Linked DNA regions of Homo sapiens: regions 1, 3, 4, 5 and 6 are each linked to region 2. The links are contacts of gene promoters, found by promoter capture Hi-C in blood cells and fetal thymus (Javierre and others, 2016). All regions are on one chromosome and are shown on one strand. The core of a region is centred on a gene start or on the middle of the fragment in contact, and the rest is flanking DNA. Distances in the headings are between cores, read along the strand shown.

The links. Contacts are between HindIII fragments. The CHiCAGO score rates a contact against its expected background, and 5 or more counts as called.
Region 1: a contact is called between the fragment with the promoter of HTR3E here and the fragment with the promoter of FAM131A in region 2, in 3 of 17 cell types (naive B cells, neutrophils and total CD4 T cells). The highest score is 6.0, in naive B cells.
Region 3: a contact is called between the fragment with the promoter of ABCF3 here and the fragment with the promoter of FAM131A in region 2, in 17 of 17 cell types (naive CD8 T cells, non-activated CD4 T cells, total B cells and 14 more). The highest score is 35.6, in naive CD8 T cells.
Region 4: a contact is called between a fragment that was not itself captured here and the fragment with the promoter of FAM131A in region 2, in 8 of 17 cell types (M0 macrophages, naive B cells, M2 macrophages and 5 more). The highest score is 7.4, in M0 macrophages.
Region 5: a contact is called between a fragment that was not itself captured here and the fragment with the promoter of FAM131A in region 2, in 1 of 17 cell types (total CD8 T cells). The highest score is 5.1, in total CD8 T cells.
Region 6: a contact is called between a fragment that was not itself captured here and the fragment with the promoter of FAM131A in region 2, in 2 of 17 cell types (megakaryocytes and endothelial precursors). The highest score is 5.6, in megakaryocytes.

Annotation. Positions count from the first base shown.
Region 1 is chr3:184,094,873-184,098,314 of GRCh38, forward strand. HTR3E (5-hydroxytryptamine receptor 3E) reads left to right here and starts at 2,192. Exons shown (of 9, transcript NM_001256613.2): 1 at 2,192-2,724. The coding sequence starts at 2,658. HTR3E-AS1 (HTR3E antisense RNA 1) reads right to left here. Exons shown (of 3, transcript NR_133658.1): 3 at 246-478. The HindIII fragment of the contact is 4,461 bases long and covers 1,919-3,442 here.
Region 2 is chr3:184,335,787-184,339,097 of GRCh38, forward strand. It overlaps FAM131A (family with sequence similarity 131 member A), which reads left to right and starts at 1,814. Exons shown (of 6, transcript NM_144635.5): 1 at 1,814-1,932; 2 at 2,601-2,743. The coding sequence starts at 1,845. RefSeq lists silencers at 18-447, 364-564, 488-557 and an enhancer at 2,356-2,967. The HindIII fragment of the contact is 18,780 bases long and covers 1-3,311 here.
Region 3 is chr3:184,184,789-184,188,543 of GRCh38, forward strand. It overlaps ABCF3 (ATP binding cassette subfamily F member 3), which reads left to right and starts at 1,411. Exons shown (of 21, transcript NM_018358.3): 1 at 1,411-1,492; 2 at 1,719-1,866; 3 at 2,008-2,087; 4 at 2,609-2,655; 5 at 2,876-2,973; 6 at 3,073-3,195; 7 at 3,353-3,619. The coding sequence starts at 1,420. RefSeq lists enhancers at 204-918, 1,396-1,715. The HindIII fragment of the contact is 6,180 bases long and covers 1-3,755 here.
Region 4 is chr3:184,529,444-184,532,976 of GRCh38, forward strand. The region is part of intron 6 of LINC01839 (long intergenic non-protein coding RNA 1839); the gene reads left to right. Among named protein-coding and RNA genes, the nearest start is that of LINC01840, 26 kb to the right of the region's middle. The HindIII fragment of the contact is 3,749 bases long and covers 79-3,533 here.
Region 5 is chr3:184,512,582-184,516,158 of GRCh38, forward strand. The region is part of intron 6 of LINC01839 (long intergenic non-protein coding RNA 1839); the gene reads left to right. Among named protein-coding and RNA genes, the nearest start is that of LINC01839, 38 kb to the left of the region's middle. RefSeq lists enhancers at 1,016-1,516, 1,220-1,514. The HindIII fragment of the contact is 5,319 bases long and covers 1-3,577 here.
Region 6 is chr3:184,548,679-184,552,478 of GRCh38, forward strand. It overlaps LINC01839 (long intergenic non-protein coding RNA 1839), which reads left to right. Exons shown (of 8, transcript XR_924788.3): 7 at 929-1,517; 8 at 2,194-3,800. The region is part of intron 1 of LINC01840 (long intergenic non-protein coding RNA 1840); the gene reads right to left. Among named protein-coding and RNA genes, the nearest start is that of LINC01840, 6.3 kb to the right of the region's middle. The HindIII fragment of the contact is 988 bases long and covers 1,059-2,046 here.

The sequences.
Region 1 (3,442 bases), core at 942-3,441, 240 kb before region 2:
GAGCAACAAGAGTGAAACTCCGTCTCAAAAAAAAAAAAGAAGATTTAAGTGTAGACCTAAAACAATAAAACTCCTAAAAGAACACATAGGGAAAAAGCTTCAAAACATTGGAGTTAGCAGTGATTTCTTGGATATGACACAAAGGCATAGGCAACAAAAGAAAAAATAGACAAATAGTACTTCATGAAAATATTAAACATCTATGAATCAAAAGACACTATTAACAGAGGAAAGAAGACAACCCACAAAATGGGAGAAAACATTTGCAAATTATATAGCTGATAAGGGATTAATATCCAAACTATACATAGAATTCCTGAAACTCAACAACAAAAAACAACTTGATTTAAAAATGGGTAAAAGGTTAGCCATAGTGGTTCATACCTGTAAATTCCAGTGATTTGGGAGGCTGAGGCAGGAGGATTGCTTGAGGCCAGGAGTTCAACACCAGCCTGGGCAGCATAGCAAGGCCCTGTCTCTAGAAACAATAAAAAAAAATTAGCCACACATGGTGGCATGCACCTGTAGTCCCAGCTACTTGGGAGGCTGAGGTGGCAGGATTGCTTGAGCCCTGGAGTTCAAGGCTACAGTGAGCTATGATCATACCACTGTACTCCAGCCTGGGAGACAGTGAGACCCTGTCTCTAAAAAAAACAAAACAAAACAAAAAGCAAAACTCAGTGGACAGATTAGACACAGCTGAGGGCCGGGCACGGTGGCTCACGTCTGTAATCCCAGCATGGTGGCTCACAGTTGAGGGCCAGGCATGGTGGGAGACAGTGAAACCCTCTCTCTAAAAAACAAAAAAACAAAAAAACAAAACCAAAACTCAGTGGGCAGATTAGATGGACAGATTAGACACAGTTGAGGGTCAAGCACAGTGGCTCACTCCTGTAATCCCAGCACTTTGGAAGGCCGAGGTGGGCAGATCAGCTGAGGTGAGGAGTTCAAGACCAGCCTGGACAACATGGTGAAACCCTGTCTCTAATAAAAATACAAAAATTAGCTGGGTGTGGTGGCACAAGCCTGTAGTCCCAACTACTCAGGAGGCTGAGACAGGAGAATCGCTCAAATCAAGGAGGTGGAGGCTGTAGTGAGCCAAGATCACGCCACTGCACTCTAGCCTGGGCAACAGAATGAGACTCCATCTCAAAATAAAATAAAATATGGAAGGCATCCATACTTGCATTTTGCATTCTTCGTATGTAATCATATTGTCAAAGACAAATTATGTCATAATCTATTGTAAATAACACTTTTCCCCAGACCTACCATAAAGTTTCTGCAATGTATTGTCTTCCAGTTGCAATAAAAATTACTGAGTTTCATCAAAAATTAATTAATTAATTAATTAAAATAAACACAGTTGAGGAGAGAATTTTTTTCCTGGAAGCTAGATCTGAAGAAATCATTAGGGACAGAGATAAAGAGGTAGAAAATAGGAAAGAGAGGTGTGCTAGGCAGAATAACGGCCCCCAGAATTTGTCCACATCCTAATCTCTGGAACCTTAGGTTATATGGAAAAGGGGAGTTAAGGTTGCAGATGGAATTAAGGTTGTTAATTATCGGACTTTGAGATGGGGAGACTATCCTGGATTATCCAAATGGACACAATGCAATCACAAAGGCTCTTATAAGTGGAAGAAGGAGAGAGAAACAAATAAGAACCAGAGAGATGAGATGCCTTGTGAGAAACATTGGCCTGATGTTGCTGGTTTTGAAGATGGAGAAGTAAAAATAATGAACCAAGAAATACAGGCAGTTTAAAAGCTGGAAAAGGCCGGGTACAATGGCTCATGTCTATAATCCCAGCACTTTGGGAGATCAAGGTTGGAGGATCACTTGAGGCCAGGAGTTGGAGACAAGCCTAGGCAACAAAGCGAGACCTCATTTCTACTAAAAAAAAAAAAAATAGCCAAGCTTGGTGGCTCACACCTGTGAGGTCCCAGCTACTTGGGAGGCTGAGACGGAAAGATCCCTTGAGCCCAGGAGGTCAAGGCTGCAGTGAGTCGCGATTGCGCCACTGCACTCCAGCCTGGTCAACAGAGTGAAACCCTGTCTCAAAAAAAAAAAAATCTGGAAAAGGCAAGGAAATGGATTCTCCTCTAGAGCCTCCAGAGGGAATGCGGTCCTGCTGACACATTCATTTTAGCCCAGTGAGACCCATTTCAAACTTCTGGCCCACAGAACAGTAAAATAACAAATTGTGTTTATTTAAGCCACTGGGTTTGTGATTTGTTACAACAGCAATAAAAGGCATGTAAGATAGAAGGAAACCATTCAACACATGTCTAATAAGAAAAATAGAGGAAGTGAAACATTTATAAATGTCTGAGAATTTTCCAAAATTGAAGAGATGAGTCTTCAGACCAAGGGATCTCACCAAGATCTGCAAGTTGATCACGTATGAACTATCTATAACCATTTACGTTGCAGTGAAATACCTAAGACTAAGATAAAGTCTTAAAAGCAGACTGAACCTTAAGCATAGGCAAGAACAAGACAACCAGAACACTCTTTGAAGGAAGGTTACAAATGTCAGTGGTCAACCAATGCTATTAGTATTCAAAGTCAGACTCTAGGTGTGGCCTGTGCTGCTTTAATCTGGGCATTCCTGGGTCCCAGTACATGTTCAGAGAAGAACTTAGACAAAGAAGATGGAAGGAAGCTGGTTCCACAGGAAAAGATTTTCCTTCTACCTCCTTCTCGGTTTTCTGCTTCAAGGTAAGAAAGGAGCAATGATGGGGGAAGGCGGAAGAAGGAGGACCTCTCTCTAGTAGAACATCTAGGAACTTTTTTCAAATTTCCAACTCCTAGAGATTGTCTAAGATGGATAGAGTTCTTTCATAGCTACATTACTAAGATGCCCACATAGACTTTCCTTTTCTGAAAGACGGAAAATCCCCTTCCAGTTACATGCCAAACAAGAGCACTTTCATTTTCCTTCTCGAAAAATAGAGTTCAACACCAGCAAACTTTATCCTTTCACATATGGATATCCAGTTTTCCCAATACTACTTGAAAAGTCTGTCTTTTCTCCATTGGTACCCTACATGGAAGACAACCATCCACGATCGTCTTCTCTTGTATTTAGCTTCTATATCCATCCATCTTTCTATCCACAGGTGTAATTCTTTCTCTCTACAGGTATGAAACCCAAACCATTGTAGCAAAGTGCCCACCTCCTTTAGCCATAATTTCCCTGTCCATCTGCTGGATCCAAGGGCTCTAGGTTAGGTAAGGTGCCAGAAGGCAGCAGGTCAAGGGTGAAAGTAGAATGTGCTTCTCTTCCAGGGGGTCAGCATGGTAGAGAGACAAGAACATGGGATTTGGAGACAGGTGGACCTGGGTTTGAATCTTGGTGTCTCACGTTGCTAGTTTTATAAACTTGGATGCACTGCTTAACTTATCTGAGCTCTGGTTTCCTCATCTGTAAAACAGA
Region 2 (3,311 bases), core at 564-3,063:
TGCCTTCAGGTGGCAGTCGGCTCTGGGAGGAGAGGACCGGCATTTTCGAACCCGGTCCAGGCCGCCTCTGCGTGGCTGTGACGTCGCTGCGCCCCGCCTACTTTGGGTGGTGACGCGGCGGTCACGCCCCCGCGCTTACGTCACCGGCCCGGTTCCCTCTCCGGGGAGCGGCGGCGGACGCGCGGCTCCCACCCCTCCCCTCTCACGGGCTCTCCCCTCCCCAGTGTGGCCGCGACCCTACCCTCTGCAAGGCGATGGCCCGCGCCCCGAGCGCAGGCTAGCGTGCCTGGGTGCCCGGCCATGGGCTGTATCGGCTCTCGGAGCCCGGCGGGTCAGGGTAAGAGGCGGAGGCCGGGTACGGGTTGGGGAGTCGGGCTGCGGCCGCCGGTGCGCGGGCCGCGGGTGGGTGGGGGCCTTGAGGAGGGGGCCGGTGTCGGGAGAGGGAGGAGCCTGCACCGGGAGGCGGGCCAGGCAACAGGAGGGAGCGGGAATGAGCAGGGAAGGGGCCAGACCGACTCCGGTTCGCTCCCACGGCCTGCCTGCCTTGGGGTTTTGCAGGGCAGACGCATGGTCTCGCCGCTGGCTGCCGTGTGCCCACTGCTCAGGGTGGCCGGAGACGCACAGCCCCGGGAGGGGCTGGGCAGCCCGATGCCCCCACCACTCCAGCCCTCGGCGACTGGCCTTGCGCGCCCACACACACACTCCCCTCCGCCTACACCTCTGCCTTCACAGTCCTGGGAGTGGCCCTGTGCTGGGAACCTGCTTCTCCCAGCCGTGTCCCCATCTTCTTAAAGAGGTAGCCTTTCGGTCCTGGCTAAGCACCCTACCACAGAATTTTTGTCGGACATTGACTCCCCTCTTCAGTCAGTCGGCGAAGGGGGACTGAGGTCCCGTTTGGGGCACCTGTGAACACTGAATCACCTCTCACCTATTACAGTTGTTTTAATGTCCTGCCCCCACTCAGCAAAAACAAATCACTCTACTCTGTGGAGGGAAAGAGGAACCCAGAGGCAGGCCATCAGGGCTTCCTTCCCACAGTGCTGACCCCTGCCTGGGCCTCGGTTTCCGTGGGTGGCCATGCACACCGGGCCTGGCCGTAGTCCTGTGCATCAGAGGTCGGCCAGCTTCCTTTACTCCGGTGTGGTGGATTTCTCCACGCATAAGGCAAGGCAGGACTGGGTTTGGGATGGGTCCTGGACCTTCAGGGCAGGTGGTCAGTCACACAGGCCTTGGTGTGGTTGGTACTTGATGTTCTTTGGAGCTAAGACTGGCTGAGATTTGTACTTCCCTTGAGGAATTCTGGGATTTGTAGTCCTAAGTTAACCTCGTGGCTTTTGAAGCTGAGGAGCAGCTGACTGCTCTGATCTCTCTGGCCCTATCAAGGCTTGGAGTTCAGGAAGTCATCACCTTCTCTTGTCAGGGGTGAGTTTGGCTGACCTCAGGACTGGCCTCGAGAGCCCTGGTTAGGTACCAGTTGGGGGCCAGGGATGGCCTGTAACCTCCTGTTTTCCTTCTGGTTGGTAGCATTTCTGGGGACCAACAGCTGGCCGAGGCTCAGGGATAGAGACGGCTGCTCCAGCTAAAGGTCAGTTGTGATGTACATTGCCTGTTGGCACTGTCTAGGGAATGGGCCTCAGCTCCCCGAGTCCCAGAGAGCTTGGCTGAGCCCTGGTGTTCCCACCTCCTCAGAGCCATGAGGCAGGAATGTTCTCCTTATGTGACTAGGCACAGGTTCCAAATGGGGAGGGGACTGGCTCAGCATCCGGAGCCAAAACAGGAATAGAACTGGGAGCTGAGCCTGGAGCGGTTCTGGGCTTTTGGTTCTCTGCATCAACACAGCCAGCATGCCTATGATTTCTGTGCTGGGCAAAATGTTTCTGTGGCAGCGTGAAGGGCCTGGAGGACGATGGACTTGTCAGACAAGTCGCAGAGGTGAGACCAGGGATCATGGATGTGATCTGGGAGATGATGGGAAGCTGAGCAGTAGGGTGCTTAGGTGGAAAAGGAAAATTACTCTGGCTTAGATATTAAGAACCAGGCTGAAACAGGGAGAACCAGGCTGGGGCCAGACAGGGCATCAGGAAACGGCTTCAGGGGACAGGGGTGAAAATCAGAAAAAATATCATGAGTTCGTCAGAAAAGAAGAGTAAAGAGCTGTGGACCAGCTGAGGCTGGCGAGAGGAAAGAAGGCAGCAGGAAGAGAGAAGGAAGGCAACCCTCCTGCAAAGGGTCCAGGGTGGCGGTGGTGGGGGGGACAGTGATGGCGGAAGAACTCAGTGTGCTTTCCAAGAGGAATGGGTAGGCTGGGAAACGGGAAGGAGAGTCAGAATTTATCATTGTTTGGTTTCACCCTAGGGTTTTGAGGCAAAATTTATCCAGAGCAGGAAGGTGGCAAGTGGGCTGCCACAGAATGGCCCCAGGGGCCCGAGGGTCAGTGATGTGTGGGATGGGGGCTTTTAGAGTTGAGGAGAGCACTCAGTGGGCGCTGGTCTTCTGGAAGGTGGGGGAGGGGCCGAGAAATGATACGGCAATACTGGATGAAAATGGGGATCTCTGCAGAAGTAGGGGCACAGCTCAACAGCCTTTCCCCTTCCTCTCAGTGTCCTCGGACCCCGCTTGGGCTGTGGAGTGGATCGAACTTCCTCGGGGTCTCTCTCTATCCTCTTTGGGATCTGCTCGAACCCTCCGAGGCTGGAGCAGGTCCTCCCGCCCTTCCTCGGTGGACAGTCAGGACTTGCCAGAGGTGCTGGGCCCCTGGTGGTGGGGGGAAGGAGGACGTCATCCATATAAAGGGGATCTGCAGCCCCCACCCACGCCTGGCCAGCCAGCTTCTGGCTCCCTTTTCCGGCGGGCGGAGGCGCTATCCGGCGGCGGGCCGGGAGGCCGCCCCCGTGCCGGTCTGCTCTGCTCGGCGCTGTGCCAGCAGGCGGAGAGCTCGCGCCTTCCGCGCTGACGTCAGCGCATCCCGGGCCGTATCCCGGGAGACCCTGTTGCGTGGTGATGGGTTGCCAGGGAGACATACACCTTTTCTCTGGGCCTGGGCCGCAGCTGCGCGGAGCGCCGGGCACGGATGGCGGCGGCTGAGGGGAGCGAAGCGAGGGAGGGAGAGCAAGCTAAGAAACACCCAGCAGGTGCTCCCCCGCCTAGGCCTGGCTGGAGGCTACTGGCGCCACCCTGGGGGCCCTGTCAGCCAGGTACCCAAGGGGAGGGATCGAGGGTGGGCCTCAGGTCAAGGGGCAGTGTTGGCTGCCCTTGTGAGGGACGGGAACGTGATAGAAGAGAGCTGGGCAATGCCGGGGAGGGATGTGTGC
Region 3 (3,755 bases), core at 161-2,660, 150 kb before region 2:
AATCCCAGCTATTCGGGGGCTGAGGCAGGAGAATCGCTCGAACCCAGGAGGTGGAGGCTGCGGTGAGCCAAGATCACGCCACTGTACTCCAGCCTGGGCAACAAGAGCGAAACTCCTTCTCAAATTAAAAAAAAAAAAAAAAAGAATATAATGAATCTCCATGTCTCATCACCCAGCTTCAACTATGATCAATGCGTGGCCAGTTCCTTAATATCACATCCAGTTTGTGTTCACTTAACCAGGTGTCTTATCAAATTTTTCCAGATAAGGTCCATTGTGGTTGGTTAATGCTCCTCAAATTTTAAAAATTGATGTTTCCCTTCAGGTCTTGCAATTTTGTGGAAGAAACCAGAGTTCTGTAGTTTACCACATCAGAATTTGCCTGTTGTCCCCATGAAGTCACTTAACATATTCCTCTTTACCTGTATTTCCTGTAAAATGGTTCAATATCGGGATTGATGCCTCATGATGGCAATGTTTAATCCAAAGGGATGAATGGGTAATAATGTAATTTTCGGTGCCACTTTTAGAGACCAATTGGAGGAATATTCACGTTAAATATAAAGCAGTAGCATCATTTTGGAGGAAATTCCTAACTTCCCGAGGGAATCGGTGAAAGGAAATAGCCTTTTATTGGCATTTATTGAGTGCAGAGAAGTCTGCTCAGGGTGTAGGTAGGGAATAATTTATACAGGCCACGTTGTCCTGGTTTTCTTGCCCTTTGGCGGTGGATTTGGTCGTGCCCTGGGGTGGTGGAAGAACTGAATGGGCTTAATTCACAAAGGTCGGCTGAATTACACAGTGAAAAGGCGGTCGCGGCGGGGAGGCGGGTGGCGCTGGCCACCAGGCTGAGAAGCCCGTAGGGTCTGGGGACCCGCGAAAGCAAAGCACTGAGCAGGGGGCTTCTGAGAGTCAGGGACCGGGGTGAGTCAGCAAAGCTCTGGGCAGGCTCCAAAATGGGCCTGACTGGGTACGCACCAGCAGCAGACGCGCCTCGAGGGAGCGCATAAAACCTGGCAAAGCCAAAGTGCTTTATCAGCCGCCTGCCTCTTGGGAGGCTCCCACCCGCCAGACCACGGGTGCCTCGCGGCCCCGATAAACCTTGAGCTCCCAGCCTTTGCCCCACCCCTCGCTCCCGGAACTCCACCTCCCAGAAGGCAGCGAGAACCGCACATGTGGCTAATCTTTCAGCGGAAAAGGTGTCGCGCACGCGCAGAGAGCGCGGCTCCGGCGCAGACTCGGCGCCTCTCCTCAAGGCCCCGCTCGCCCCGCCCACCGGGCTCTGCGCACTCCGCTCCTTTCCTGCGTCACCGCTACACATGCGCCTTGCAAGGAAGGGCGAGATTTCGGGGGCAGGGCGGGGGGCGGGCCTAGGCCGGGGTCTCACAGCGACTGCGCGGACGGGTTCCTGAGTGGAACATGGCGACTTGCGCCGAAATCCTGCGGAGCGAGTTCCCCGAAATTGACGGACAAGTCTTCGACTACGTGACCGGTAAGCAGAACTGAATCGGCCGGCTGGGGAGACCGAAGTGGAGGCCGGGGGAAAGTCTAAGCGAGCGTCGTGCCCGGGACTGTTGCCAGGCCTCTCCTCTGCATGACCTCTTGTCCCGGGGGCTGGTTGGGTCTGGAGCCTGGACTGGGGCCTCTGTCTGGGGTCTGAAACTGCTTGTGTGTCCACCCTACCCGATACCTTCCTCGTTCTACCACGCCCTGCCCAGGCGTCTTGCACAGCGGCAGCGCGGACTTCGAGTCTGTGGATGACCTGGTGGAAGCTGTAGGGGAACTATTGCAAGAGGTGTCCGGGGACAGCAAGGATGACGCGGGCATCAGGGCCGTGTGCCAGCGCATGTACAACACTCTGCGTCTGTATGTGCCAGGGAGTAGGGGTTGATGGGGGCGAAGGGACGGCGAACGGTCCGGAGACAAGAGGTGGGGGAGGAAGATCTGATGGCCATAGAGCTTTTCCCTCAACTCCTAACTCTGCGCTTTCTATCCCTACCCACATAGGGCTGAGCCACAAAGCCAGGGAAATAGCCAGGTGCTACTGGACGCCCCTATCCAGTTGTCAAAGATAACGGAGAACTACGGTGAGAGTGAGGGGAGGTTGAACTAACTGCCCCCCTGTGCTTTTCTCCGCCCCCAACCATCTGCTGCCTGCAGCTTAGGGCTCCTACGTCTTTTCCACAGGACAAGGTTGTAGGAGCTAGTTGATGTCTTTACCGAGGGCAGAAGAGCCCATGATGGGGGTGGGGAGGAGGTTGGAGGGTTCTCCCTCCAAGCTCTTGGGTAGGATAGGAAGCATAAGAGCCTGGAGCTGGACAGACTTGCTTTCACCCCCAGTTTTGCAACTTGCTAACCAGCTGCATGATCTTGTAAGAGTTGGTTATCTGTCCCCAGCCTTGTCTATGCCTCTGTATCCTTCTACGTGAGTTTTGTTTTGTTTTGTTTTGTTTTGTTTTTAGTGCAGGGAAGATAATAGCCATCTATCTGCAGTATTATAAGGTTTTGTAGAAAACATCTGTGTCTGTGCCTGGTTCCTATTAGTCACTCAAAATGTTAGTTTCCCTTCCCTCAGGGAGAAGGTGACTGCTTTTCTTATCGCTTACAGACTGTGGAACCAAACTTCCAGGACTGCTAAAGAGGGAACAGTCCTCGGTGAGGAGGAGGAAGCAAGGGAGGGGACTGTCTGTGATGGGGTTGGGAGTTGACTGTCTAATTGGAGTATCTTTTGGGGGGATTTCTGACTATGTCTTTTCCTGAGCCTTTGAGTCTGTTCATCATGGGTAAGTTAAGAGGGTTTACTCGAGATGTTCTCTCTTGGGGTTCCTTTCTGAGCCTACACCCGAGAGTGAAGTCGATGTGTTTGGACCCTTAGACAGTGAATGCAAAGAAGTTAGAGAAGGCCGAGGCTCGACTTAAGGCAAAGCAGGAGAAGCGCTCAGAGAAGGACACGCTCAAGACCAGCAACCCTCTGTGAGTGGGGGAAGCATGGCTCAGAAGAGAGCAGAGCAGCTTTTGCCTGGACAGAAGGTGGTGGGGAGCACTAAGAGCTGTCCATTTCTCCCTTTAAAGAGTCTTAGAAGAGGCATCAGCCAGCCAGGCAGGCAGCAGAAAGGAGAGTCGGTTGGAATCATCTGGCAAGAACAAATCCTATGATGTGCGAATTGAGAACTTTGATGTGTCTTTTGGCGATAGGTGAGGGAATAGTGGTGGCAGGGGTTGGCTTTCTTTTTCTAATTAGAGGACAATTTGGAGAGGTGAAACGGGGCTATAAACAATGTTAGGTTTGTCATTAAACTTGCTGTGCACCTATTTCTAGAGCATCTTTGGTCTCCTTTCTCCACTCCTGCAGAGTACTGCTGGCTGGAGCGGATGTGAACCTGGCATGGGGCCGCCGTTACGGGCTGGTGGGGCGGAATGGGTTGGGGAAGACAACGTTACTGAAGATGCTGGCCACCCGGAGTCTGCGGGTTCCAGCCCACATTTCCCTGCTGCACGTTGAGCAAGAGGTTGCTGGAGATGACACTCCTGCCCTGCAGAGTGTGCTGGAGAGTGACAGTGTGCGAGAGGATTTGCTACGGAGGGAGCGGGAGCTCACTGCCCAGATTGCTGCTGGCAGGTGAGGACTCCCGGCTAGGGAGTAACTAGCAGCCGCTGTCGCTTACAGAGCGCCTGCCGTCCTGGAACAATCCATAATTTGCATGTACATCCTAGTAATCAGCAGAGCTTAGAACTTGGCACTCTGGGACTCAGAA
Region 4 (3,533 bases), core at 703-3,202, 190 kb after region 2:
AAAGATTTCCAATGCGGGGCACCAAACCCAGAAGCCATTAGGGAAAAGCTGACAGATTTGACACCATAAATATTAAAAAGCTTGTCCTTGAAAGACATCATAAACAAAGTAAAAATACAAGTGCCAAACTGAGATAAAATATGCAAGAGGAAAAATATTAAATCCACATATTTTTATTTTCCCTGTAAATCACACTCTTTCAGCTTCTCCTCCCCAAGGCTGAGCCATGAAGCTCATTGCCCAGGGAAAGAAGGGCAGGTACTGCCTGGGACAGAGGCACCCTTGAGAGACTTTCTTAACTTTCCTTAACCCATTTAGCAAGACCAGAGGCTCAAATGCAAGCCTTTATGGAAAAAAGAAAAGGAATGATTTTGATTTTATCCTGAAGCTCGTCCTCTAATAGATCAAGGCTCAACCTTGGTGGACTTTTTTTTTGAGACAGAGTCTCACTCTGTCGCCCAGGCTGGAGTGCAATGGAGTGATCCCGGCTCACTGCAACTTCTTTTTTTTTTTTTAATTATACTTTAAGTTCTAGGGTACATGTGCACAACGTGCAGGTTTGTTACATATGTATACATGTGCCATGTTGGTGTGCTGCACCCATTAATTCACTGCAACTTCTGCCACCCACGTTCAAGCAATTCTCCTGCCTCAGCCTCCCGAGTAGCTGGGATTACAGGCATGCGCCACCATGCCTGGCTAATTTTTATTTTAGTAGAGATGCGGTTTCGCTATGTGGGTCAGGCTGGTCTGGAACTCCTGACTTCAGGTGATCTGCCCGCCTCAGCCTCCCAAAGTGCTGGGATTACAGGCGTGAGCCGCCGCACCTGGCCAACCTTGGTAGATTTAATCATGAAAGTCCACATGGGAGATGCGCTATCAAGAGGAAGTGGAAAAATGCCCCCCCTTCCCTGGGAGGGTTGTAGGGGGAGGAGGAAGATGGAGGGGGGAGGAGGAAGATGGAGGGGGGAGGAGGAAGATGGAAGGGGGAAGAGGAAGATGGAGCAGGGAGAAGCAGTTGTGAGAGATGTGTCCTGACAGCCCCAGTTCTAGACACAGGCAGATTGAAAGAAACACCGAAAGCAGAAGAGAAGCCTCTGACTCTGTTTCAATTTGGGCTTCTGGGAAGAGAAGCCTCACCAGGTACCTGCCCTGTATCAATCTGTCTGCCTATTAGGCAGAGACAAGACCAACAATTAGCTGCCCATTCATTGGCATGAAAAGTGTCGAGAATTTCCTGGATACTCTTGCAGGGGAAGAGCTTCTGTGAGGAGAGGTGACCCTATAGTTGACGGCTGGGTGGTCACTCAGGCTGGGAGCCTAATGGAAGTTCCCTGAGGGGGATCAAGCACAGTAGTAGGACCAAAGTGGAGAAGAATCAATTGAAAGGACCCCTGGACTCGGAGGAGCTAGAGTTTCTCAGCTATCAACGTAAGCAACAGATGTCAGCGAGATTCATGCCCTGTGATGGGGTCAACATGAAACTGGCTACAGAAATCAGAGGAGGTATAGGGCAGCACATGAATCTGTGCTCAGGAACTGAGGCCTGTTCTTCACCTTCACCACTAGACCAGCTAAGACCCACCTCCCACACCCCAAATGCCATCTCAGAGAATAAGCAGCAGGAGGAGGATGAGCTGAGATCATGGGTCGGGTAGCCGCAACAAAAAGATCTTGAAGATGGTGGCTTAAAAAATAGGAGCTGGTTTCTCTCTCAGATAAAAGTGCAGGTGGGCTGGGCGCAGTAGCTCACACTTGTAATCCCAGAACTTTGGGAGGCCGGGGCAGGCAGATCACTTGAGGTCAGGGGTTCGAGACCAGCCTGGCCAACATGGCAAAACCCCCTCTCTACTAAAAATACAAAAATTAGCCAGGCATGGTGGCGCATGCCTGTAATCCCACCAGCTACTCTGGAGGCTGAGGCACGAGAATCGCTTGAACCCAGGAGATGGAGGTTGCAGTGAGCCGAGATCGCAGCACTGCACTCCAGCCTGGATGACAGAGTGAGACTGTGTCTCAAAAACAAAAAAACAAAAAAACAAAAAACAGGCCAGGTGGTGGGCAATGCAGACTAGGCATGGCAGCTGGATGGGGTCAGGGACTGAAGCTCTATGTGCTTTTCGCAACGTGGGACTTCTAGCTCGTGCTCTAAGATACCTGCTGTAGCTCCTATCATTATGTTTGGATTCTAGCTGGTGGGAAGAGGGAAAACAATAAATCAAGACAAACTCCTCCCGATTCCCTTTAAGAGCATGACCCGGAAGTAGCACACATCACATATGCTCCCATTCCATTGTCTAGAACTAGGTAACTTTGCTACATCCAGCTGGAAAGGAGCCTGGGCAGCCACCCAAATGTCCGTCTGTCTCACTCACAGAACACACTTGCTCCTCCCCAAGGAAGACAGGTCTACAGTGATGGCATCTGTGCAAAGTGCAGACTCTCTGGATCCTCTCCCAAAGGTCCAGATGTGACTCTCTCTCTGCTGACCTATAAACCAAAAGAAAAGTTACTTCTCTTGCTTCTTATGACATATAAACCCAGTATGCGCTGGGGGAGAAGGAACAGGATAACTAATAAAAACTTTCAGAAAAGGGAAGAACGGAAAACATGCATTAGTCACTGGTTCATAGCGATAATGAGATCCTACAAAGACTCCCTTCCCTTGCATGGAGTCACCACTGGCATCGCTGTCTGGGAGCAAGTCCCTTGTCCACTGGCCCCAGAGAGGACGGGCTTGTTTTCTGGGAGGTTATTCTCTGTCAGTTGTTTTTTCTGGCCACATCTCAAGTGGGCACTGGAGACTATATCCTTTGAGGAAGGGGGAGCTCATAGGTTCCACAACCTCTTTCAGCCTGTGCTGTCTGGGGACCCTAGAGTTACTTTAGGAGTCAAAACCATCCCAGGCTTTTGTAGACCATATCTGTGGTTTCTTTTTTTCTTTTTCTTTTTCTTTTTTTTTTTTTTGAGACGGAGTTTTGCTCTTGTTGTCCAGGCTGCAGTGCAATGGTGTGGTCTCCGCTCACTGCAAACTCTTTCTCGCAGGTTCAAGCCATCCTCCTGCCTCGGCCTCCCAAATAGCTGGGATTACAGGCACCCGCCACCATGCCCTGCTAATTTTTGTATTTTTAGTAGAGACAGGGTTTCATCATGTTGGCAGGCTGGTCTCGAACTCCCGACCTCAGGGGATCCACCCACCTCAGCCTCCCAAAGTGCTGGGATTACAGGCATGAGCCACCATGCCCAGCCATATCCATGGTTTCTTTGGCAATAAAATTTCTTCCAAAAGTTAGTAGGTTCTGTGTTGCTACCACGTGCAAGTAACCACAGTTGCAGCTCTTCGTTAGGCACAGCTTTTGCACTGGAAAAGTCTGTTCTTTAATTTACTGACTTTGACTCTGCCCCTTTTATTCTGGTAGGTGGTTAAATTACCAGTGGATCTTATTGATCCCGCAGGCTTGGTCTGTTTTGGTTTTGTCCTTAGTCTTAGGAATTGGTCCTTACTCTAGACAGAACATGGTCCTTACTCCTAA
Region 5 (3,577 bases), core at 938-3,437, 180 kb after region 2:
GATCAAAATCTGGTCTGACTTACTCCAAAGCCTGTGCCCTTTCCACTCTACCAGCTGCTTCCAGAGCTCCAGCTGGCCTCCTCTTTGTCTGAGATAGGATGCAAGGAAGAGAGGATGAGTGTGGAAGTGAAGATGTTTGGAGATATTGTAGAATACAGGAAGTTGAAGTAATTCAGGCTGGAGGCTAGGTCATTCCCAGGAAAATGTAAGGGATTCTACCTGCAGAGTTCGAAGGATGTGGGAATTCAACAGAGGAGCTACCAAGGAAGGGCCGACCAGGGGAGAGGGAGAGGAAAGTAGCCAAGGTGAGGCGAGCCAAGTGCCCAAACCATCAATGGCAGCATGTAGCGGTGCTCCAGAGGCAGAGAGAGGAGATCAAGAAACGTGGGGCGGAGAGGAGAGGGGAAGAGTTTGAGAAGAAACAGAATACGTCACAGTCTCAAAGCATCTCCCCCCAAATATTTATTAATTACAAAGGGAAAACTAGTCATTTTACAGTGGGGAAACCAGCAGACATCACTATAACAAAGTGATCTCAAAATATTGTTTATTAAAAGAGACAATGAGACGAAGCTCCTGGCAAGGAATAAGTGACTAAACCATGGCTGTTCTGTGGTCTTTGCAGTAATAACAATATCCTAAATGACCTGCGGCCAAAAGATCTCCCCACCTCATCCCACCTCAGTGCCAGGTTCATCTGTGCTAATGTATCACCGAGTCCTAAAGGATGACTGAGTCGTCCTTGGGTAACACGTGGTTAACGCGTGTGCATTTGACAGGGGTCTTCTGTAATAATGGGGTGATTCTCACGCGTGGGCGGGATTCAGGCACGGCAGCAGCATTGGGAGAAGTGCTTTGGGGCTGGGGTGAGAGGAGTTTGGGATCTCCACGGGTACTAGGTGCCCCCGCTGTCCTCTATGGTTGGGCTCTTGCGTGCGGCGGCAGATCCCGGGCGGCGCTTCGGCAGATCCTGGATGGCGCTTCGGCAGATCCTGGATGGCGCTTCGGCAGATCCCGGACGGCGCTTCGGCAGATCCTGGACGGCGCTTCGGCGGGGCTGGCCTCCCGCACACACTCGGGTCTCCAGAGTCGGGTGTGCGCGTTGGGGACGCTTCGTCCTGCAGTTGAACGCCCTGAAGCGGGAGAATCAGCGGCCTCCCCGACCCTGACTGCGCTGTAGGGTCTATGAGCTCCTCTGCAGCGCCCGACCTCCTTCGCCAGCAGCCCCAGCCCCCTGCGCAGAACCAGTCTACGCGGACGCCGGAGTCCCCCTGGGCTGCTGGAGAGCCCGAAAGCTCCCGGGGCCGTGTCTTCTGGGAAACGCGCCAATGCCCTCTAGTGGGCGAGCTTTGAACTTCCCTGAGGCCCTACACTGACCTGAGCAGGGGAATTAAATCTCCGGAGCGTCACCCGTGTCTTGCCGAGAGCGGGGCGCAGTGCAGCCCTGGAAGGGCGGAGAGAGTGAGGATGGTGCACACCCGAACCAGCTGGGTCGAGTCAGCCCCCTCCCAGGAGGGCGGCGTGGTCTCCTCCTGCCTCATCGTCCCCCTCCCCGTCCTTCACTCCTCCCAGCTAGAATTGGCACCATCCACTCTTCACTCTCCTTGAGCGAAAAGAAGGGAGACTTGAACACATCTATGCGCCAGGCAGCTTCACTTCTTCATCTGGAAGCTATTTCTAAAAAGGATTTGAAGTGATCACAAAGGCTTACAAGGGAACTAAAGAAAGATGGGGAAACAAAGACGCACGGGCTAGCACTGAAAATGTCTTAAGACCCTGAACGGTCACTAGACCCGGAGTAGAGATAGGACGTTAAACTTCCAAACCCTTAGAGCGTTAAGAAAGACGAGACCGGGAAAACTCCAACAGTCCTTCAGGAATCAGGAACAAAAGACCAAGGCAAGGGGAAGCAAAAGAGGAAGGGGCAGGGAAGCCATGGTAACTAAAAATAGAAAGGAAGGACAAAAGGAGAAACCACAGAACAGAGCAAAATTACTGCAGACGGATTAAACTCCCCTATTAAAAAAAAAAAAGTAAAAAGCCTAAAACGGCCTATCTACCTAGCTTCTAAGATACATAGCTGTAACAAAGTGACATTTAGAGTTTCAAAATAAAGAGGTCAGTGAGGATATACCAGGAAAGGGCTAACATCTGTACATCCCTCCAGTTGGGGGCCTAACTCTAAAATACAGCTCACTTCCACCCGTGTGTCTTCTTCGCCCCGGTGCCACTTCCTAAGGCACACCACAGTGACTTCCCACCTGTCCCATAGCTATAGCTTTCTAATTGGCGTCCTTAGCCCCCCTTGCCTTCCTCCCTACAAAGCACATATAATATTCTTTCAAAAACATAAATAAGAAGCTGGGCGTGGTGGCTCACGCCTGTAATCCTAGCACTTTGGGAGGCCAAGGTGGGTGGATCACCGGAGGTCAAGGGTTCGAGACTATCCTGGCGAACACGGTGAAACCCCATCTCCACCAAAAAATACAAAAAATTAGGTAAGTGTGGTGGCAGGCACCTGTAATCGCAGCTACTCGGGAGGCTGAGGCAGGAGAACCGCTTGAACCTGGGAGGTAGAGGTTGCAGTAAGCCAAGATCCTGCCACTGCACTCCAGCCTCGGCGACAGAGCCAGACTCCATCTCAAAAAAAAAAAAAAAAAAAAAAAAAAAAAGCATAAATCTGGCTAAAGTCCTTCAATGTCTTCTTATGGCATTTAGAGTCAAGTTCAACCTTTTTACTCTGGCCTACAGCCCCCACACCACCCCACTTTCTCTCACAACACCCTCTTCCCTTCTAGCTGCTGTCCCAGTGGCCTTCTTGCTGTTCTTCAAACCCACCCTGGCACACACTGTTCCCTCTGGCTGGAATGCCGTTCTTGGAGCTCTTCCTCTCCTTGCCTGGGTCCTAGCTTCAGGATCTCCCCTGGAGGAAATCCTTTCCTGGCCACTGTGTCTGGAGTGAGGCCCTTTGCCTAGCTACTCTTCATCACTGCTCTGTTTATTTCCTGCAGAGTACTTTTTACAGTCTGTGAATATCTTGTTTATTTATTTGCTTATTTATGTCTTCTCTAGTAGAATGTTTACTGCAGTCTTTTGGGTTCTTCTCCATGTATAATCATAGTATCTGCAGGTAAATATAACTTTTTCTGCTGTTAGAATTCGTTCTTATACTTTCTTTTTTCCCCAATAATGCAATTGAGCCTTTAAAACATGTTGAATAATAATGATCATGGTAAGCATCCCTTCTTTGTACTTTCCTAATTTAATGGAAATAGCTTGAGGGTTTCATGGTTTTAGTAAGAAAGATATTTGCTATTGACTTCTGGTAAATATTTTTCATCATATTTAAGAAATGTCTTTCTATTCCTACATTACTTTTACTTTTCCAATTTCTTCCTGGGTAACTGACCTATTTAAATTTTCAATCTCTTTTGATATCAGTTTATGTTTTTCTAGGAATTCAACAATTCCTAGATTTGTTGAAACAAATCTCTAGATTTTCAAGTTGGGTGCCCTAGGGTTGTATGTAATATTGTCTTATAATTATTTTTCTCTCTTTTTGTATCTGGCATTATAT
Region 6 (3,800 bases), core at 303-2,802, 210 kb after region 2:
TCCCAAGGGTGTACACCCGGGGTGGTTACTGGGCTGAGGGTATGGTGCTTTTCCCGTCTGTCATGCAGGTTACCCTCATGCCAGCGTGTGCCAGTTTCTGTTGCTCTGTGCCCTCACTCACACTTAGTATAGCCACATTTCACATGTACAAGCCTACATTCTTTTTTTTTTTTTTTTTTGAGACAGAGTCTTGCTCTGTCTCCCAGGCTGGAGTGCAGTGGTACGGTCTCGGCTCACTGCAACCTCTGTCTCCTGGGTTCAAACAATTCTCCTGCCTCAGCCTCCAGAGTAGCTGGGATTACAGGTGCCCGCCACCATGCCCTGCTAATTTTTGTATTTTTTTTTTTTTAGTAGAGATGGGATTTCACCATGTTGGCCAGGCCGGTCTCAAACTCCTGATCTCAGGTGATCCGTCTGCCTCGGCCTCCCAAAGTGCTGGGATTACAGGCATGAGCCACTGCACCCAGCCACAAGCCTATATTCTTTATACAGTCCCTAACAACCTTTTGGGAGAATAGTTGCACAGAGAACTACAGCTAGACCATGTTCTTGGCTGTGACATCCTCGGCAAAGCCTGGATGGAGGTCACTGAGGCAAAGCTGAGCCAATATTGATTCAGAACATCCTGTTGCAAAACATGGAGTGAAAGACATGAAGCAAAAGAGGCCTTTGGAAAGGTTTCTTGGCCATCTCCACCAACAATCTGCCTCAAGGCATCATCCTTTCGTCTTGACCTTTTGTTTAAAGGACTAAGTAGGGAGCCCAAACTCCTAGATTTGCCCAAGGTGGTCCCAATTCAGGCCAGTTGTCCCAGTGTAATTATTAATAGCACCACCTTTGACTCTTCAAGGTGTTCAGGCTTGAAAGATAATTTATATGGCCACCTACTGTAGGAGGGTGGGAATTCACATCAATTTCCTATCCACAGATACTCTGCTGTGGCCAACGTGGGGAAGACTGAATGATGGAGAGCCTGTTATACAAACCACAGGGGAACACTTGCCATTGTTTCTGCTATTGTCCCACAGTTGTTTAAGATGGAAGCAGGAGCCCCTGGAAGCTTTCAGAGAAGAAGCTAGCCAGAAACTCACAAGCCCTTTCCTTGAGAAGCTCTGGCCCCATCACTGCGGAGTGCTGGCCATGCTCCCTGGTCACTGCCCATGGGACGGCCAGCTCCCGGGCAGGTGGTGCTAAGCAGGTTGGCGGGTGTTACCCCTCCCAGTCTCCTCAAGATTAGAATCTGTTCCAGGCCACCAGACAGAGCTCCCTGCCAACGCTCTCACTAGAACTGTTCCTGGATGTGCTTCGAGAGCTGTGGCCAAGCTCTTGTGACAACACCTCCTGGAATAACAAAGGGATCCTTTGTGGGCAATCGGCTCCAGCTAACAGCTTGCGGATGGCTGGACTCCCTCTGGCATTTTCTTTTCAAGACAGCCGCCCCCCCATTCCCATCCATTCAGCTCAAGACAATCTGAGATCGTACACAGATAATTGGGCCATTTGTTCAACCTGAAGAGGTAGGTCAGGTCGGCCTTCCAACATTGAAACTTCCGGAGGAAATGATGGGACACAATGGGAATCTGTGGGGGTGACAGCTCAGGGCATCCGCATTCGATGGTTCCCTTCCAGTATTGTGCCACCTCTGAGAGAAGGCCTTCAGCTCAGCAGTGTGCTCATGTGACAAGGGCTTATTCTTAGCAACAGGTCCACAAAGGATTTCCAACTAAGCAGCTTTGGAAACCTAGGCTCTTACTTGGAAGGGCAGGCCCATTGAGGATTGCTCTTGCCAATGGAGCTTCAAGACTCCTCTGGGGCCACCAACTCCATGAAGTCTTTGTGGAGCCACCGCCTCCCAGATGTTTGCCCAGATGAGAGTTGCACACTTTTGCTTTTGTGCCCCATGTGTTACCCCCATGAGTGTGTGCATATGTGTATCTGCATCCATGCACATGTACATATGTCTGTCACAGCACAATCACTCCCCCAAGGACAGTGACACTACCTTACTCTTCTGCATTCTCCTTCCTGCACTGGGAGCTCAGTAAAAGCTTGTGAAATAAAGAACGGAGTCAGTCTTTCACCTGGAGGTGGTTGGGCCCAGAAGCAGACTGGATGGAGGAATTCAGATGATATTGTCTCATCTCTTTTTGTCCCTGAATTCTTCTCTGTTTCTTTTCTTTTCTGTTACTGTAGATGAATGTTCTCCATGTTAGGGAAGATGGTCACCAGCAATCCAACTGGCAACATTGCAGCTCTGGAAATGAAGGCAGCTCCACGGTCTCTTCCCCCATCCCTTGATTACCCGTGTGGCCACAGGGTGGGGTACAGTGACTAGAGAGTCCACTAGAATGCCATGATTGGAGTGAGGGTACAGCAGTTCCCCAAAGTGGGGCAATTGAGGTGGCCCTGAAGAGGAAAAAACAACAGACATCCAGGAGAAAATCACTGGAGCTTGAGGGGCCTCTAGGAGGACACATTCTGACCTGGAGACCTGGAGGGCTCCCGTGAGAGGAACAACTGAAATCTCCAACAACCACAGGCTGAGGAGCTTGGGCTGGGCAGGTTTACAAAGACCACTGCCTCAGAAAGGACCGCGAGCGGTTGATCTGCAGGCTCTGAGCATGAGGCAGCAGCAAATGGACCCTCACTGGGGACACCCAGAGGCCAGGTCCCGTGCAGGACCAGGAGTCAGCAGCCAACCCCTGCTCATCTGCTGGGGGTCCGTGGTCCGCTAAGCGGCCCCACAGAGGGCCCTCTCCCATCAGGCTGGCTCTGGGATGACTGGGTGGTGGCCCTCACAGCAGTAGCTAACATTCTGGGAACCAGACTCCCTGGGCACTGCCCCACTGCCTCCTGCCAACAGTGCTGTTATGTGGATTTTAGGCTTTAGAATCAGAAACAGGCCCTAAATTAAGCACAGAAAGAGAGAAAGGGTGGGAGGGAAAGAGAAGAGGAGAGACTGAGGAGATAAAGGGAGGCAGAGAGAGAAAGTGTTGGAAGGACACGGGACAGTTGAAGGAAAAGACGAACAGCCGCTTTCGGGATAGACTGGGGCAGGACCAAAGCCTGCTGCTCTGCCGACCCAGGACCAACCCCCTTCAGTCCCTGTGACTGCCCCGGAAGTCCAGTTCCCAGGACTAACGCGGGCCGGTACCTGCCCCTGGGATCAGGGATCAGGTTCTGTGATTGACCACCCCACCATGCGGAGCTGAGGAGGGGCCACTAACTCAAAGGAAGGGTGAGAAGGAGGGAAGTATATTTTGGACAGACAAAACCAGCAGCTCTCAGGCACCACTAGCTCCATTTTCCAGGTGAGGAGACAGGCTTAGGGAGGGGGCAGGACTTGTCAACATCACAGTGACAGTGAGTGACAGGACTTCAGCCCAACTAGCTTGACTGCAGTACCACATCTTAATCACTGTGTTTGCTCCCCACCCAATCACGATGGGTGCCTGGTGGGGACACCTCATTTGATCACAAATCGTAATTTAACAAAATAACACAGTGGTTAAGAGTTTGGGGACCTGTTAGAAGGTCACTACAGTCAAACAGGCAAGAGAGGAAAGGACTAGCCTGTCCCAAGACAGTAGATACGATGACAGGAGGACATGAATCAGTAGATGCCAGAGAGTGTGAGAAGAAATCTGTCACGATTGAGAACTCACAGGACTGGGAAGGGAGGAAGGAGTGGGGTCTACATTGGCCTCAGGCTTCTGGTTTGGGCAGTGGGTGGATGGAACTGTCCTTCACTGAGGTGCAAAGCCCAGGAGGAGGAAGCGGTGGCAGTGGAGGTGGGAGAG